Regions from separate parts of the Homo sapiens genome. Here region 1 is linked to region 2. The links are contacts of gene promoters, found by promoter capture Hi-C in human tissues and cell types (Jung and others, 2019). All regions are on one chromosome and are shown on one strand. Each heading gives the region's core, a stretch centred on a gene start or on the middle of the fragment in contact. The rest is flanking DNA. Distances are from core to core; before and after follow the strand shown.

The links. Contacts are between HindIII fragments. The study calls those that stand out against the background at their distance.
Region 1: a contact is called between a fragment that was not itself captured here and the fragment with the promoter of COMTD1 in region 2, in 1 of the 25 tissues and cell types used here (pancreas).

Annotation. Positions count from the first base shown.
Region 1 is chr10:75,409,926-75,417,151 of GRCh38, reverse strand. LOC101929234 (a long non-coding RNA gene) reads right to left here. Exons shown (of 3, transcript NR_110304.1): 2 at 6,968-7,022; 3 at 5,828-6,860. Among named protein-coding and RNA genes, the nearest start is that of ZNF503, 12 kb to the right of the region's middle. The HindIII fragment of the contact is 4,292 bases long and covers 3,084-7,226 here.
Region 2 is chr10:75,234,429-75,241,695 of GRCh38, reverse strand. COMTD1 (catechol-O-methyltransferase domain containing 1) reads left to right here and starts at 5,739. Exons shown (of 7, transcript NM_144589.4): 1 at 5,739-5,861; 2 at 5,953-6,080; 3 at 6,324-6,429; 4 at 6,518-6,636; 5 at 6,704-6,758; 6 at 6,953-7,086. The coding sequence starts at 5,768. RefSeq lists silencers at 5,491-5,785, 5,821-5,960, 6,121-6,200, 6,331-6,620, 6,781-7,010. The HindIII fragment of the contact is 14,083 bases long and covers 457-7,267 here.

The sequences.
Region 1 (7,226 bases), core at 3,980-6,479, 180 kb before region 2:
GAGGGAGGCATTGCCAGGATTTCTGAAAGCTGAAGGAAGCTCTTGTGAGGCCACAGAGAGCCCTTACTTTTGGAACTTGAGCAACTGACTCTCTCTCTGTGAACCTCAGTTTCGTCATCTGTAAAATGGGGATAACAATATAGGCCTTATAGGATTGTTGCGAGGATTAAGGGAGATCCTGGTTGTGAAAAAACTATACAGGCATTGAATGTTTTATTACCCATTTTAGTAAGTGTTCATTAATTAGTGCCTGCTTGTTACTTAGCTCTCTGCTAGTCTGTGTTGAGAGTATAAAGAAGGCATCTGGTTCAGCCCTGGAGGAGCTTAAGATCTAATTGGAAAGTTAAACACACACATATACACAAAAAGCTAAACAATAAGAATTTAAATAGCTAATAAAATATATCATCAATTAGTAGATAATTAAGTGCCAGATGAGTGGCACAGACAGCAAGCACGCCAGGATTCAGAGGTAAGAAAGAACACGGGATAATAATAATAATAATGACCACTTTGAGCACTCTCTGTGCCAGGCACATGCATTGTCTCATTTAATTTACCCATCGACCATATGAAGTAGAGATCATTATTACATCCATTTGGCAGAAGAGGAAACTGAAACTTCAGAGAGGTGAAGAAGCTTGCCCCAGGTCACACATCTAGCAAGTGTGGTACTGCTGTTCCTTAGACCCAAGCAGTCATGCCCCAGAGACCACCACATGCTGAAGCACCATGTTCTAATCAGATGGACGGAGGGGCAGGGCGGTGCTGTGTCCTGAGCTGGATGGTACAGGAGGGAGCCTAATGAGTACAGATGGGACAAAGAAGGGTGTGTTGGTGCAGGGGGAAGATTCCAGGCTGGCTGGATGGCTGGTCCTCAGGGACAGTGGAAAGCAAGTCTTGACAGTAAGACTGAAGGAGAGCGGCCAGGCATGGTGGCTCACGCCTGTAATCCCAACATTTTGGGAGGCCGAGGTGGGTGGATCATTTGAGGCCAGCAGTTCAAGACCAGCCTGGGCAACATGGTGAAACCCTGTCTCTACCAAAAAAATAAAAATTAGCCAGGCGTGGTGGTGGGCGCCTGTAATCCCAGCTACTCAGGAGGCTGAGGCAGGAGAATCACTTGAACCTGGGAGGCAGAGGTTGCAATGAGCTATCATGCCACTACACTCCAGCCTGGGTGACAGAGTAGGTGACACTCCATCTCAAAAAAAAAAAAAAAAAAAAAACGGATTGAAGGAGAGAAGCTAAGGCACATGAAATGCTTTTTGGCAGAAAATGAATTGTCCATGAGGGTTTGGAGCAATGTGGGATCCAATCAAAGCAGTGTTTGGGAAGGTAGGACTAGGGGAGGCTACCGTAGGAGGATTTCAGATGGGTGTTGAGGAGAACTGAGTTTGAGGCAGAAGCATTTCGGGGAAGATGGAATGCCATCCTTCCTAAAAAGCCCTTATTCCCCTACTTTTTATCTTTGTGACATTTTGGGTTAATCTACATTTGGTTCCCGTGACTGCCGGCCTCATTCTGGCATGTTTACTAACTCCTTTCACACCTGGGTTCTGCAGGAAGTAACTCATTTGCTCCTTCCATAAATGCTTGTGGATCTCCCATTTCAAAGGGAGAATCAGTCAACACAGTCTGGGTGCTAATTATGATTAAGGGGGAAAGAGGTCAAAGATGATGCTAGTGGTCAGAGCTGATCCCCACCAGATCCCCCCAATCCTGCCACATTGGTGGCAGGTCCAGTGGTGCCTGCCCCCCCCCACCCCGCCACAGCCTGGCAGACCCACCCTCCCAACACCAGCCAGCTCCCTGGGCCACTGTTGCCACTTCTCACTGCACACCTCCACCCCCGCTGAAGGGGCTGGTCGCCCTTTTCTTCTGAAGCAGCAGGGCAGGGAGACTGAGAACATGATAAAGCCTTTGGCTGTTCAAGTAAAACGTTGTGAATATGAGAATGTGGTCAAAGAGCTGGTAGGAGTCACTGCGGGGCAGCATGTTCAGTTACAAAGGTGGGGACTAAGAAAGTCAAATCTTTAAAAATCTATTTATATAACCTATATATTAATTTTTTTTGAGACAGGGTCTTGCTCTCCCAGGCTGGAGTACAGTGGTGCTGTCACAGGTCACTGCAGCCTCCATCTCCTGGGCTCAAGCTGTCCTCCCACCTCAGCCTCCTGAGTAGCTGGGACTACAGGTGTGCATCACCGCTCCCAGCTAATTTTTTTCATTTTTTGTAGAGATAGGGTCGCACTATGTTGCTCAAGCTGGTCTCAAACTCCTGACCTCAAGCAATTCTCCCACCTCAGCCTCCCAAAGTGCTGAGATAACAGCTATGAGCCACCACACCTGGCCTAACCTATATTTACTGAATGTAGTTGATGCATATGGTAGACTATGTAGGCAATAAAAGTAAGATGACATCATTTGTGTCCTTATTAATGCCTTGATTAACAGAAAAGGTGAGGGGAAATGAAGGGAAAAAGTAGGGATAGAGACAGAAAAAGAAGAGAAAAGAAGAATAAACACTAAGCCCAGAGACATGAAGCATATTGGCCAAGGTCAAGGTTTGGGAAAGTGCAGTGCAGTGAGTAGGGAAAACCTACCTCTTCCCTGGTACTCCCCCAATACTCACACAAGACCTCAAATGCTTCAGGCCATGACTTTCCCAAGGAAATGTCCCCTGGAGATGTTTCTGTGCCATTGATTGCATTCCACAAACATTTTTGAGCACCCCAAGGTACCAGTTTCTTAAGCTCTTAAGCTCTGCTAAGAAGAAGCAGAGTTGATTGTTTCCTAAGGCGGTCGATCTTGACAGTGTCCTTTGATGCCTTAGACACCTTCATCAGACATATTGGGTGTCATCCAGGCTTGTGGGAGGGAAGGGCTAGAAGGGAAAAAATTCTGTACATTCTCAAACCAGATGGAGATAAAAATCATTTTCTCACCGGGCTTTGGTAAGAGGTAAGATAATGTTGTAAGCTACCTAGAATTGTGTCCAGGACACAGTAGGCACTCAGTAAAACCAAGTGTGATTCTCTCACTCAATGCTGACCTGACTGCTTCTCTTTACTGCATTGATCAGTTTTTCAGCTGAAGTCGTTACCTGGCTAGGTTGGTATTCAGCCAGGCTGTTTGGTGCTGGAGTCCCACACAAGTACCCATCATAGGAACCCACAGACACAACTAAGAAGTAATCACCATTGGACCTGTTTAGAAGCCACCTGAACAGCCAGGCTATGGCAAATCAGTTGACGTTGTTGGTTGTGAGTGACCAGAACTAGCTTTGATTAACTTAAGCAGAAAAGGAATGTATCAGAAGGATATCAGGAAGTTCACAGAATCAGTGGGAAGACTGGAGACCTAGACTTGGGAAATGGACAGGAACTGTCAGCAGCTGGGAAATGGAAATGCGGCTGGCCATGCTACCATACCAGCCGAGTTAGGCCACTGCCTGAGTGGCTGCCATGATCACAGTGCACATGGCAGTGACTGTCCTCTCTGCCCTTCCTAGTCAATGCTATTGCACTGGGCTCACTGCTGCTACTGAGAAGAGTTTCCAAACTACCACAATCCTCTGCTCACCCCTTGAGTCTGAGACCCAGGTAGGGAGCATCCATTGGTTAGAGGGCAGAGAGAGGGAGGATGTGGCCTCTCCCACTTCAGTAATCAGACGCAGGCCCTGCTTTCCAACAAGGAAGAGGATTCAGATGTTAGGCAACCAAATGAGTAGGAAGAAATTAAATGTCCACCATGCAATACTTTACTTGTAGCACTGAAGGTTAAAGGTATTACCACACTTGCCTCCAGGTGTCTTTTGGCCATTCTAAAATACCAAAGCCATGCCATAAAAATGTTTGCCTGCTTCTGAGGCTATTTCAAAAACTATACTTGAAGGCAAGTCTCTAATATAAGTTTCTAAAAACTGTTTTGGACCACTGTGATGGCATTTCGTTTTTTTGTTGTTGTTGTTGTTGTTTTTGTTTTTTGAGACGGAGGGTGGTATTTCTTGTTAAAGAAGGTGAAGAATATGTCTGTCTGTAATTATAAAAATCCCCAATTTCACTGGCTTAAACGAATAGGGATTTTTCTAACAAAATAAAAGTTTTGGAGAAGGAGGATTGTTGGTGATGGCTCAGTGTCCCAATGACATCAGGATTAAGTTTCTTTCTTCTGTTTTCTAGGACTTTCCCTCATAGTCACAAGATGGCTACTACAGCTGTAGATATTATGTCCAAGCTCATGCAAGGAAGGAGGGGAAAGGGAAGGGTCTAACCATAGGCATCATCCCCTTTGATCATGAAAATAGAGTGCTTCTCAACACTCGCTTACTGCTTTGCCACCCCTGTACTTCCACTTGTTCCTCATTTGCCAAAATAGGTTGCATGGCCACCCAGCTACAGGGATGCAAGGGAAAGATGAAAACAAGATTGTCATGATTGGCCTATGCCAATCGCAAACCACTGCCTGGGCCTGGTACACTACTACAGTTTTCAAATGAGGAAGGTGGAGGGAGGTGGATATCAGATAATATATCTAAATTCTGGTATCAGATTTGACCATTGCAGGATTGGAAGTTAGACACACAAGCGTGGAAGACAAGGGCTTTCCAAGGAGAGGAGACAGAAGGAAAACACAGGGCATGTGGGGAGAACAAAGAAATTCAATTTGGCTGACGTGTAAGTAGCTGCACTTTTGGTAAACTATCCTAGAGAAGTAAAATCACTAATTGCAAGGATATAGACATAAGAAATTTTATTAGCAAAAAAAACCTGGTAACAATCTATGTGCCCACTAATAGGGGAATGGTTGAATAGGTGCAGTATATACATCTTATGAAACATTATGTAGCTGGCCAGCATGGTGACCTGTAATCCCAACAGTTTGGGAGGCTAAGGCAGGTGGATCCCTTGAGCTCAGGAGTTCAAAACCAGCTGGGGCAACATGGAAAAACCCCATCTCTACGAAAAATACAAAAATTAGCCAGGCGTGGTGGTGTGTACCTGTAGTCCCATCTACTTGAGGGGCTGAGGCGGGAGGATCGCTTGAGTCTGGAAGGTCAAGGCTGCAGTGAGCCATGTTTGTGCCACTGCACTCCAGCCTGGGCAACAAAGTGAGACCCTGTCTAAAATACATACATATATACATACATTAAAAAAAAATAAAAATAAATTAAAATTACTATGTAGCTAAAAAATGAATATATTCATTCCATATCTATAGACCCATTTATTATTAAGAATGAATGAGCGAGTTGCAGAGACCCCTAATATAATCCTTTTTGTATAAATAGGCAATAACACAATAGCTCCACATATATGAATATAGTTTATTATGAGCATGGAGCATGGTGAAAGAGGTAGAAGTTATACCCCAGGTCCTTAACAATGGATGTCTTGGGAGACTGGGTGGGAAATGCAGAGGAGGTGAGGAAGATCACTGATGTTTTTCTTTGTATATCTTTGAGTGTTTTCCTGGTTGAGGTGAACATGTGTTTCTTTCATAATTTTGGAATGCATCTTAAAGCTTTACAAAAGTAGTTTGGAAGTGGGCTATGAAGAGTCAAGTGTTACACTGTATCATAGGGAGCCACTGAAGAGTTTTGAGTAAGGGAATGATGTGGTCAGGAAAATTAACCCAGCAGGAGTATGTATGATGGATTAGAGGCAGGAGAGGTGGAGGATGGGCAGAACAATTAGAAGGTTCTTGTAGCAGCAGTTAAGTCAGAAACTAGTAAGAACTGAACTGTGATAGCAATAATATGTGAAGAAAGGAAGAGGAAAGGGGGTGCAGGCTAGAGCCTTGAGACATACATGCCCAACACTGGGAGATGGTCGTGGGTGGCATGGTTTTCCATTAAATTGTGTCAACCAACACATCTTGCATCTTGAAACCCTGAATAAATGGCTGTAATCCATGCATATTCCTCTTCTCCAACCTCCTCCAGCATCCCCTTATTTGACATTTACAATAAAGGCATTCAAAATAACATATGTTTTCATGAGATTTGTATCATCGCCCTCATTAAGTTGAGAACATCTTGGAATGTGAGACCATGGAGAATACTTACTGGTGGCCCCAAAAAGGGCAGTTTCATTCGTTCATCATAGTTGGTGGTTTATACAAATGTTCCTTCTTCATTTGTTCCTTGAAGGAACGGCCCTAGTCCCTACCCCCTGGGAGTTTACCATCCAGTGAAGCGGACAGACTCTCAACAGGAAATTCTATTATAAGTGAGGGTAATGGGAGGCGGGAGGATGCAGGAAAGTGATGTGTGAGCTGAGACCTGAAGGAAGAGTATGCGCAAGCCAGGTGAAGAGAAGGACAGGTCATTCCAGAGAGACAGAGAAAAGCAGGAGCAAAGCCCTTGAGGTGGGGAGTAGCATGGCACATTTGAGGAACTAAAAGGAAGCCTTGGGTAGCAGGAGTTCCAGGTGAGGGGGTGTGGAGGCAGACAAAGGCAGAAAGGCAAGCTGGGGCAGAGCCAGTGTAGACCCGCCAGCCAGGGGAGGCAAGCTCAACTTGTTCTCAAGAACAATGGGAACCCGGATGCCTTTAAGCAGAAGAGAAACATGGTTGGATTTGCTTTTTAAAAAAAGAGCATGCTGGCTTGGGCTGGGACTACAGGGAAACAGCAAGGAATGCTCAATGGTCCGGTTTTCCCATTAGGCTGGGAGCTGGCCAGGGGCTGAGATGACCCCATGCCATTTATACTGTTCTCCTCTGTGCAGATCTCCCTCCTGCTCTGCACTGGCTTCAGCTGCAAATGGTTGTGGTTAACAGGCTGGTACTCCCCCATCAGAAAAGTAGAATTCTCCCTCCAATACTCCCCCAGAGTAAGGAGTTGGCATGCCCCAGATCTGAAGGAAAGAAGGGATGAGGATGGGATGCGGGTGAGGCAAGGCAGATTTCTTCTCTCTGTGCCTCAATTTCTTTATCTATGAAATGGGGCATTCATGGTACCTACCTCAGAGAGTCGCTGTGGGCGAGGACATAATTCATACAAAATTTTTAAATGGCACCTGGCACAAAATGAACAATCAAAAAGTGTTAGTTTTTGCTTTTGTTCTTCCTGAAAGATAGGTGGGACCCTATGAGCACGGACTATATTCCCCACTGTCCAAGAGGACGGCTGATCACATCCGCAGAGAGAGCGTGAGGACCCCTGGGCCAGGCAGGTGTCAGGAGTACCAAATGACCTAAGTTTCAACAAATCTCACGTGCAA
Region 2 (7,267 bases), core at 4,490-6,989:
GCCGTGGCTCACGCCTGTAATGCTATCACTTTTGGAGGCCAAGGTGGGTGGATCACCTGAAGTCAGGAGTTCGAGACCAGCCTGGCCAATATGGTGAAGCCCCATCCCTACTAATAATAAAAAGTTAGCTGGGCATGGCGGCGCATGCCTGTAATCCCAGCTACTCAGGAGGCTGAAGCAGGAGAATCACTGGAACCTGGGAGGCAGAGGTCGCAGTGAGCTGAGATTGTGCCACTGCACTCCAGCCTGGGTGACAGAGACACAGTCTCAAAAAAAAAAAAAAAAGGCCGGGCGCGGTGGCTCACGCCTGTAATCCCATCACTTTGGGAGGCCGAGGCAGGCAGATGACGAGGTCAGGAGATCAAGACCATCCTGGCTAACACGGTGAAACCCCGTCTCTACTAAAAATACAAAAAAATTAGCTGGGCGTGGTGGCAGGCGCCGGTAGTCCCAGCTACTCAGGAGGCTGAGGCAGGATAAGGTGTGAACCCGGGAGGCAGAGCTTGCAGTGAGCCAAGATCACACCACTGCACTCCAGCCTGGGCAACAGAGCGCAACTCCATCTCAAAAAAAAAAAAAAAGCAAAAGAGGAAGACAGCAATTGGGAGCACCAGAAAGATGCCAGGTGCCTCTGCTGGCCTTGAAGATGGAAAGGTTTCAAGAGAAGGAACTGAATTTTGCCAACAACTGGTGAGCTTGGCAGAGGCCCCACAGCCCCAGGGGAGAACTTTGTCTTGAACCTGGTGAGACCCTGAGCAGAGAATCCAACCCGGCCTTGTCAGACTTCTGACCTACGCTCTGCGAGATAACAAGTGGGTGTTGTTTTAAACTACTAACTTTGTGGCAGTTTGCTGTACAGCAATGGAAAACGAAGACAGAAGGTTCATGCCCATTTCCTAGTTTTCTAGAGTTTCTCAGAAACTCTGAGCTTACTCAGCTGCAAAGTGAGTGGTGGGGCAGATGTTTGAACCCAAGTCCATCTGTTCTAAAGCCCATGCTGTAGCTTTCCCATTCAGCCTCTCCAGATGAGGAAAGTGAGTCACTAGGGGCGCTGCCAGGGTCAGCTCCCCAGGATCTCAGCACAGAGGAGGTGGGACCAGGTTGTGGCCCCGTCATGCTCCCAGCTCATGTGAGGAGCCCCAGGAGCCCCCAAGTCGCCATCTGTCTGTGTCTACCTGTGTCAGTGCACTTGGCCTGAACCGTCCTAAAGCCCCTGGAGTTACAGCCCTGCCTCCCGACGTCTTAGGTAAAAGGTACTGTCCTCCTTGGGGAGCCCAGTAGACCTCACCCAGACATCGGCGGTGGTCTGCTGGCCACTGAGGCCCTTCTCACTCTAGGGGACTCCACTTCAAGCCCTAACTTCTCTCATTCATGCTCAGAGTCAGAGGAAACTGGTGCCTCATGAGCCAGAGCAGACATGAAGCTCAAATATGTGTTCAGTTTGGCCAACAGTGTTTAAACACATACACACACACACCCCGATGTTTAAAATTGTGAAGTTTCACACTGAAAGCCATATTGCCAACCTCTGTTGGGGAATCGGAAGCTCTGGCCATACTGGGCCCATCTTCCCACTTGGCATCCAAGGCTAAAGCCAAGTGGCCACCATGTCCCCTGGTGGAGGGTGAGCTCTGGAGTGCTCCAGTACCCACCACCCCCTATCACCTTGCCCTGCTTACTTCACCTGCCTGGCCCCAAAAAACATCTGAACTCCAATCCCTTAGGATTGATTCTACGACCTTACCTTCTGCCTCCTGCCCTGCTCAGTCCCGGGGGATCTCGGGCGACAGCGCCCAGCCTGTGTGATGCTAGCAGGGCTATGAGAAATAGGAGTGGGACCAGTAGGATGGAAACTCAGGGGTCTGTTCCAGACCTGTTTGTGTGGAGAGCTGTTCCCAGTGACCCAGTTCAGCTAAGACTGTCAGGCTATCTGCGTCTGTCTGTATCAGTCTACTCAGCCTGCCCCCTCTCTGCCTGGTGGGGGCCTAAGTGCAGGTGCTGATGCCCATTTTCTCTGCCCTGATGAGGCTTCAGGTTCCTTGGTGCTTAATGGGGCAATGGCATTTGGCCAAAACGCACCTGAGACAGGTGGAAATGACCTCCCCTGCCCATTCCCTCCCCTGGGGGCTGCTGCCCACATCCACAAGGCCCTTTGGGGAGGCTCAGCTCCCCCCACCCTCTACCAGGCCCACTGCCTGGAGAAGAATCAAAACCCACTCTGTCTTCAGCCCCCAGGCTTCTAGGAAAAAGCCCTAGAACAGATTCGGAGGCGACACTTTGCTCCCTTCCTGGTGAGCTGAGATACTGGTGCCGCCATGCAAGAGACAAGAAATGAGTAGCAAAAAGGGGAGGGGGTGGAAAAATTAAATTCTGCGTCATCAGCAAGGTTTCAAACAATCGCTCGCCAACTGAAGTGGGTGCCACGTCTATAAGTCATTCTGTTTTATAGACCATTAGGATCTCCAGAGAGAACCTGCATGGAGACCACTGCTTTTTGTTGAAATTAAAATGTCAGAGAAAAAGAAATAGAACAAAACAGGGAATCTGCAATTAATTACCAGGCCATAAAAATTCAATAATCAGGAAGCAGAGCGGCCGCCGGCCCAGAGGTATCAGAGCCAGCGTAACAAGAATGGAATACATTAATCTTTTCAAATTAGTTTTTTAATCTGACGGGGATAGATGGTGACATGCCTCCCCTCCCCACCCGCTCCCCCTCAACCTCCACCGCTCCGGCCTAAAGCCAGGCTGTAGGAGGGAGTTTCAGTGTGAGCTGGGGGCCTGCTGCAACCTGGACCCCCGGGCTGAAGGGAGAGAGCGGTCAGCGGCACCACCTGAGCGCAGGGCCCTCAGGCCAGCTCGAGCTGGGCCCTCGTCCCAGCAGAGGAGCCAAGAAGGCCTGTTCCCTCTGGGTCCCAGGGTTCAAGGGAGAGGTACGCGCGTTTCCTCTGTTGGCTGCAGGGTCTGGGCGGTGGTCTCTGAGCTTTCCTGCTCTGGAAAATGGGAACAAGATCACAGCCGCCCCCGGATCCTGGATGCATTGTGCCTGGTGCCCGGCAGGTCCTCAATAAAGGGGCCCTGCTGTTACTATTTTTACTCCTGGCAGCAAGGAGCGCCAGGCAGCGCCAGAACTCTAGTCAAGAGCATTTATTTAGCGCCTGCTGTATGCTCAGGCCTGGGAAGGAGAGACCAGCAGCCTCAGTCCTTACCCGCAGAATGAGATTCACGGTCAAGTTAGAGGCCAAGCGGGACGTAGAGGGTCAAAGAGTAAAGGGCAAGGAGCTTGTCCTCGAGCAGTGCTGCTAGCCCGGAGGCAAGTCCCAGGAGGGCCGAAAGGGCACGCATGCACGGAGACAGCAGGTTCTGCCCCCACACAGCCATGTGCTTCGGGGGCTGCCGGCTGGTTGGTCAAAGAACCAGCCCCACCCTGTCTCTGATTAGAGGCCGGCCCGTAGCCTCACCCCAGAGCTCCGCCTCCTCCTTCCTCGCTTCCGCTAGGCCCAAGGTTCCTGCAGCTCAGATCAAGAAACTGCAAGTTTCTGGCCTTCATCCTCAGCCAAGCCACTCTCTCATTAACTACTCAACAAGCTGGCCTCTGGGCCTCGCTCAGGTTGAGCCCCCGCCTGGGAAGCCCCCCAGTGGAGCTCAATGCCTAGTCAGCGTTGTTAAAATGGATTCTTGGCCGGGTGCGGTGGCTCACGCCTGTAATCCCAGCACTTTGGGAGGCCGAGGCGGGCGGATCACATGGTCAGGAGTTCGAGAACAGCCTGGCCAATATGGTGAAACCCCGTCTCTACTAAAAGTACAAAAATTAGCCAGGCATGGTGGCTGGCGCTTGTAGTCCCAGCTACTCAGGAGGCTGAGGCAGGAGAATCGCTTGAACCTGGGAGGCGGAGGTTGCAGTGAGCTGAGATCGCGCCACTGGGCTCCAGCCTGGACGACAGAGCAAGACTCCATCTCAAAAAAAAAAAAAAAAAAAAAAAAAGGCTCTTACAGCCTCCACCCCAGGGGACATCTGCAGTGCAGCAGGAAGATAACCGGCTGCCCTTCGGACTTTGACTCCTTTTAAAGGTAACATGACAGCTCACTAAGTGCCAGGATTTTCTCATTTGGTCCCCTGTGTAAGTCCTCAGCCTGGATTTTCTCATTTGGTCCCCTAGGAGGTTGGGACTATTCATAACGCCATTTCACAGAGGCAGAAGTCGTGAAGCTTAGGCCACCCGCCAGCTGTGTGTGACCTGCATCTCTGAAACCAGCTTCACTAAGAATACCAACCAGAGGCCAGGCACGGGGGCTCACACCTGTAATCCCAGCACTTTGGGAGGCTGAGGCAGGAGGATCACTTAAAGCCAGGAGTTCGAGACCAGCCTGGACAACATAGTAAGACCCCTTCTCTTTAAAAAAAAAATTTTTTTTTTTAAATTAGCTGGGCACAGTGGTGACCGCCTGTGGTCCCAGCTACTTGGGAGGCTGAGGCAAGAGGATTGCTGAGCCTGGGAGCTCGATGCTGCAATAAGCAGTAATCTTGCCACTGCACTTCAGCCTTGCCAGAGACCTTGCCAAAAAAAAAAAAAAGAACACCAACGCCAGGCACAATGGCTCAGGCCTGTAATCCCAGCACTTTGGAAGGACGAGGCAAACAGATCACTTGAGGCCAGGAGTCTGACACCAGCCTGGCCAAAATAGCAAAACCCGTCTCTACAAAAAATACAAAAATTAGTTGGGTGTAGGGGTGCGTGCCTGTAGTCCCAGCTACTCCAGAGTCTGAGGCAGGAGAATCGCTTGAATCAGGAGGTGGAGGTTGCAGTGAGACCAGATTGTGCCACTGCACTCCAGCCTGGGTGACAGAGCGAGACTCAGTCTCAAAAAAAAAAAAAAAAAGGACAGCGTCAGCGTCTTTCACCTCCTCCGGAGTTTGGCGCATGGTAGGGGTTCAATCAGTGTTCTCTGGACAGTGTTTCAACAGAACAACCTTGCAAGGGAGCTTCACCGGCTTTCTCCCCAAGATGTCTTCATTCCAACCTACCAACATAACAGCAGCTGCCACTTATGTATTGTGCTACTGTGTGCGAAGCTGTGGGATCTGGTGCCTTTTATGGTAAGATTGTAGGCCTCATTTTACAGGAAGGAAACTGAGGCTCAGAGAGACTGGCAGGACCAAGATTAGACACTCGTATCCATCTGGCCCCCAAAAGCAGGATTTTAACAGCTAAGAATATGGTCTCAGTTCCACAGGCCCACCCCAGGGCTCCTGAACCCCAATTCGAGGCTGCATGCCCTCAAACCAGTTCCCTCACTCCTTCAGCCTGATGCTTTGGGGCATCTTGTCCAGGAGGCCTTCCCCCTTTAATCTCTATCTCTTGTACTTGTGACTATCTTGTAACTTACACTGGCGCCCTCCATACACAATTCACATATGCCCCCAAGGGGCCTCAGAATAAATGGTGGCGAGGAGAAAAAAGCATTGGCAGGAGGGGAATGGAGGCAGGCACCTGGACTGCGGGCACAGGCGGGAAAATTCAGATCTAGGCGCTTGGCCTGCTCCCCGCAGGGGCGCAGTTCCCGGCGCGGCCACCAGATCGCGCCCGGCTCTCTCGGGCGGGGCTTGCAGTAAGGCTGTGTGGCCGCCAGATGATGCCCGAGACCGCGGCTCCGCGGGTAGTGCCCCGACAAGGTGGAGCCCGGCGGGCCCGCGAGTCCGAGACCTGTCCCAGGAGCTCCAGCTCACGTGACCTGTCACTGCCTCCCGCCGCCTCCTGCCCGCGCCATGACCCAGCCGGTGCCCCGGCTCTCCGTGCCCGCCGCGCTGGCCCTGGGCTCAGCCGCACTGGGCGCCGCCTTCGCCACTGGCCTCTTCCTGGGTGAGCAGGACCTGGTCCCGGCGGGCGGGTGGGCGGGCGCAGAGTAGGGCGCGGCGTGGCTCAGGTTAATCCAACACCCTCTCCCCGTCAGGGAGGCGGTGCCCCCCATGGCGAGGCCGGCGAGAGCAGTGCCTGCTTCCCCCCGAGGACAGCCGCCTGTGGCAGTATCTTCTGAGCCGCTCCATGCGGGAGCACCCGGCGCTGCGAAGCCTGAGGCTGGTCAGCAGGGCGCGGGACGGAAACGGGCGTCCCTCTCGACCCCTGCGGGTCCCACGTGGCTGTGTGACCTTGGGCTGGGCCCTGGCCCTCCCTGGGCTTCCGGCTTCCCTGGGCCGGGTGCGGTGGGCGTTCCGAAGGGCCAGTCCCCCAGGCCACGCCCAGAACCGCGCCCCTGGGGCTTGGGACCCCCAGGGCGAAGGTGGGTGACCTGCATGGCTGGTGCCACCCTCTCCTTTCACGCAGCTGACCCTGGAGCAGCCGCAGGGGGATTCTATGATGACCTGCGAGCAGGCCCAGCTCTTGGCCAACCTGGCGCGGCTCATCCAGGCCAAGAAGGCGCTGGACCTGGGTAGGGGCACGCGGCCGGGATCCCGGAGGGCCGAGGTTTCCGGGCCGACCCCCACTCTGGGCTGAGCCCGTCTGTGTCCTGGTCCCAGGCACCTTCACGGGCTACTCCGCCCTGGCCCTGGCCCTGGCGCTGCCCGCGGACGGGCGCGTGGTGACCTGCGAGGTGGACGCGCAGCCCCCGGAGCTGGGACGGCCCCTGTGGAGGCAGGTGAGCGCCCGCGCCTAGCTCTGCAGCCCCAGGCGGGGGCGCAACGGCTGACCCGCTCCCTCCGCAGGCCGAGGCGGAGCACAAGATCGACCTCCGGCTGAAGCCCGCCTTGGAGACCCTGGGTGAGCACCGAAGCGGGAAGGGCTTTGAAGCCATTCATTGCAAACGAGGCTGCTGTGTGGCCGAGCTGTGACTGGGCCTGCCGGGCAGGTTAAGGGCAGGGCCGGTTGTCACAGAGCCCGGGCCGGCCTGGGAGGGGCCTCAGGGCCGCCGGGGCCGCGGACTCAGCCGCACCTGCCCTCCCTCCCCCCGCAAGACGAGCTGCTGGCGGCGGGCGAGGCCGGCACCTTCGACGTGGCCGTGGTGGATGCGGACAAGGAGAACTGCTCCGCCTACTACGAGCGCTGCCTGCAGCTGCTGCGACCCGGAGGCATCCTCGCCGTCCTCAGAGTAAGGGATCCACTGCGGGGGAGGAGAAAGCACCCTGTCGGGCCGGGTCCCCATCTTTTCCCTTGACTCCTCTTATACCCCAAAGCCCCACCCAGTCCAGTCACGTAGGCTACACCCCCTCCGGGGCTCCGGCCCCGGTACCCAGGCTTTCCTCCGCTTTGGTTCTGTCTCCAGCTCTGGT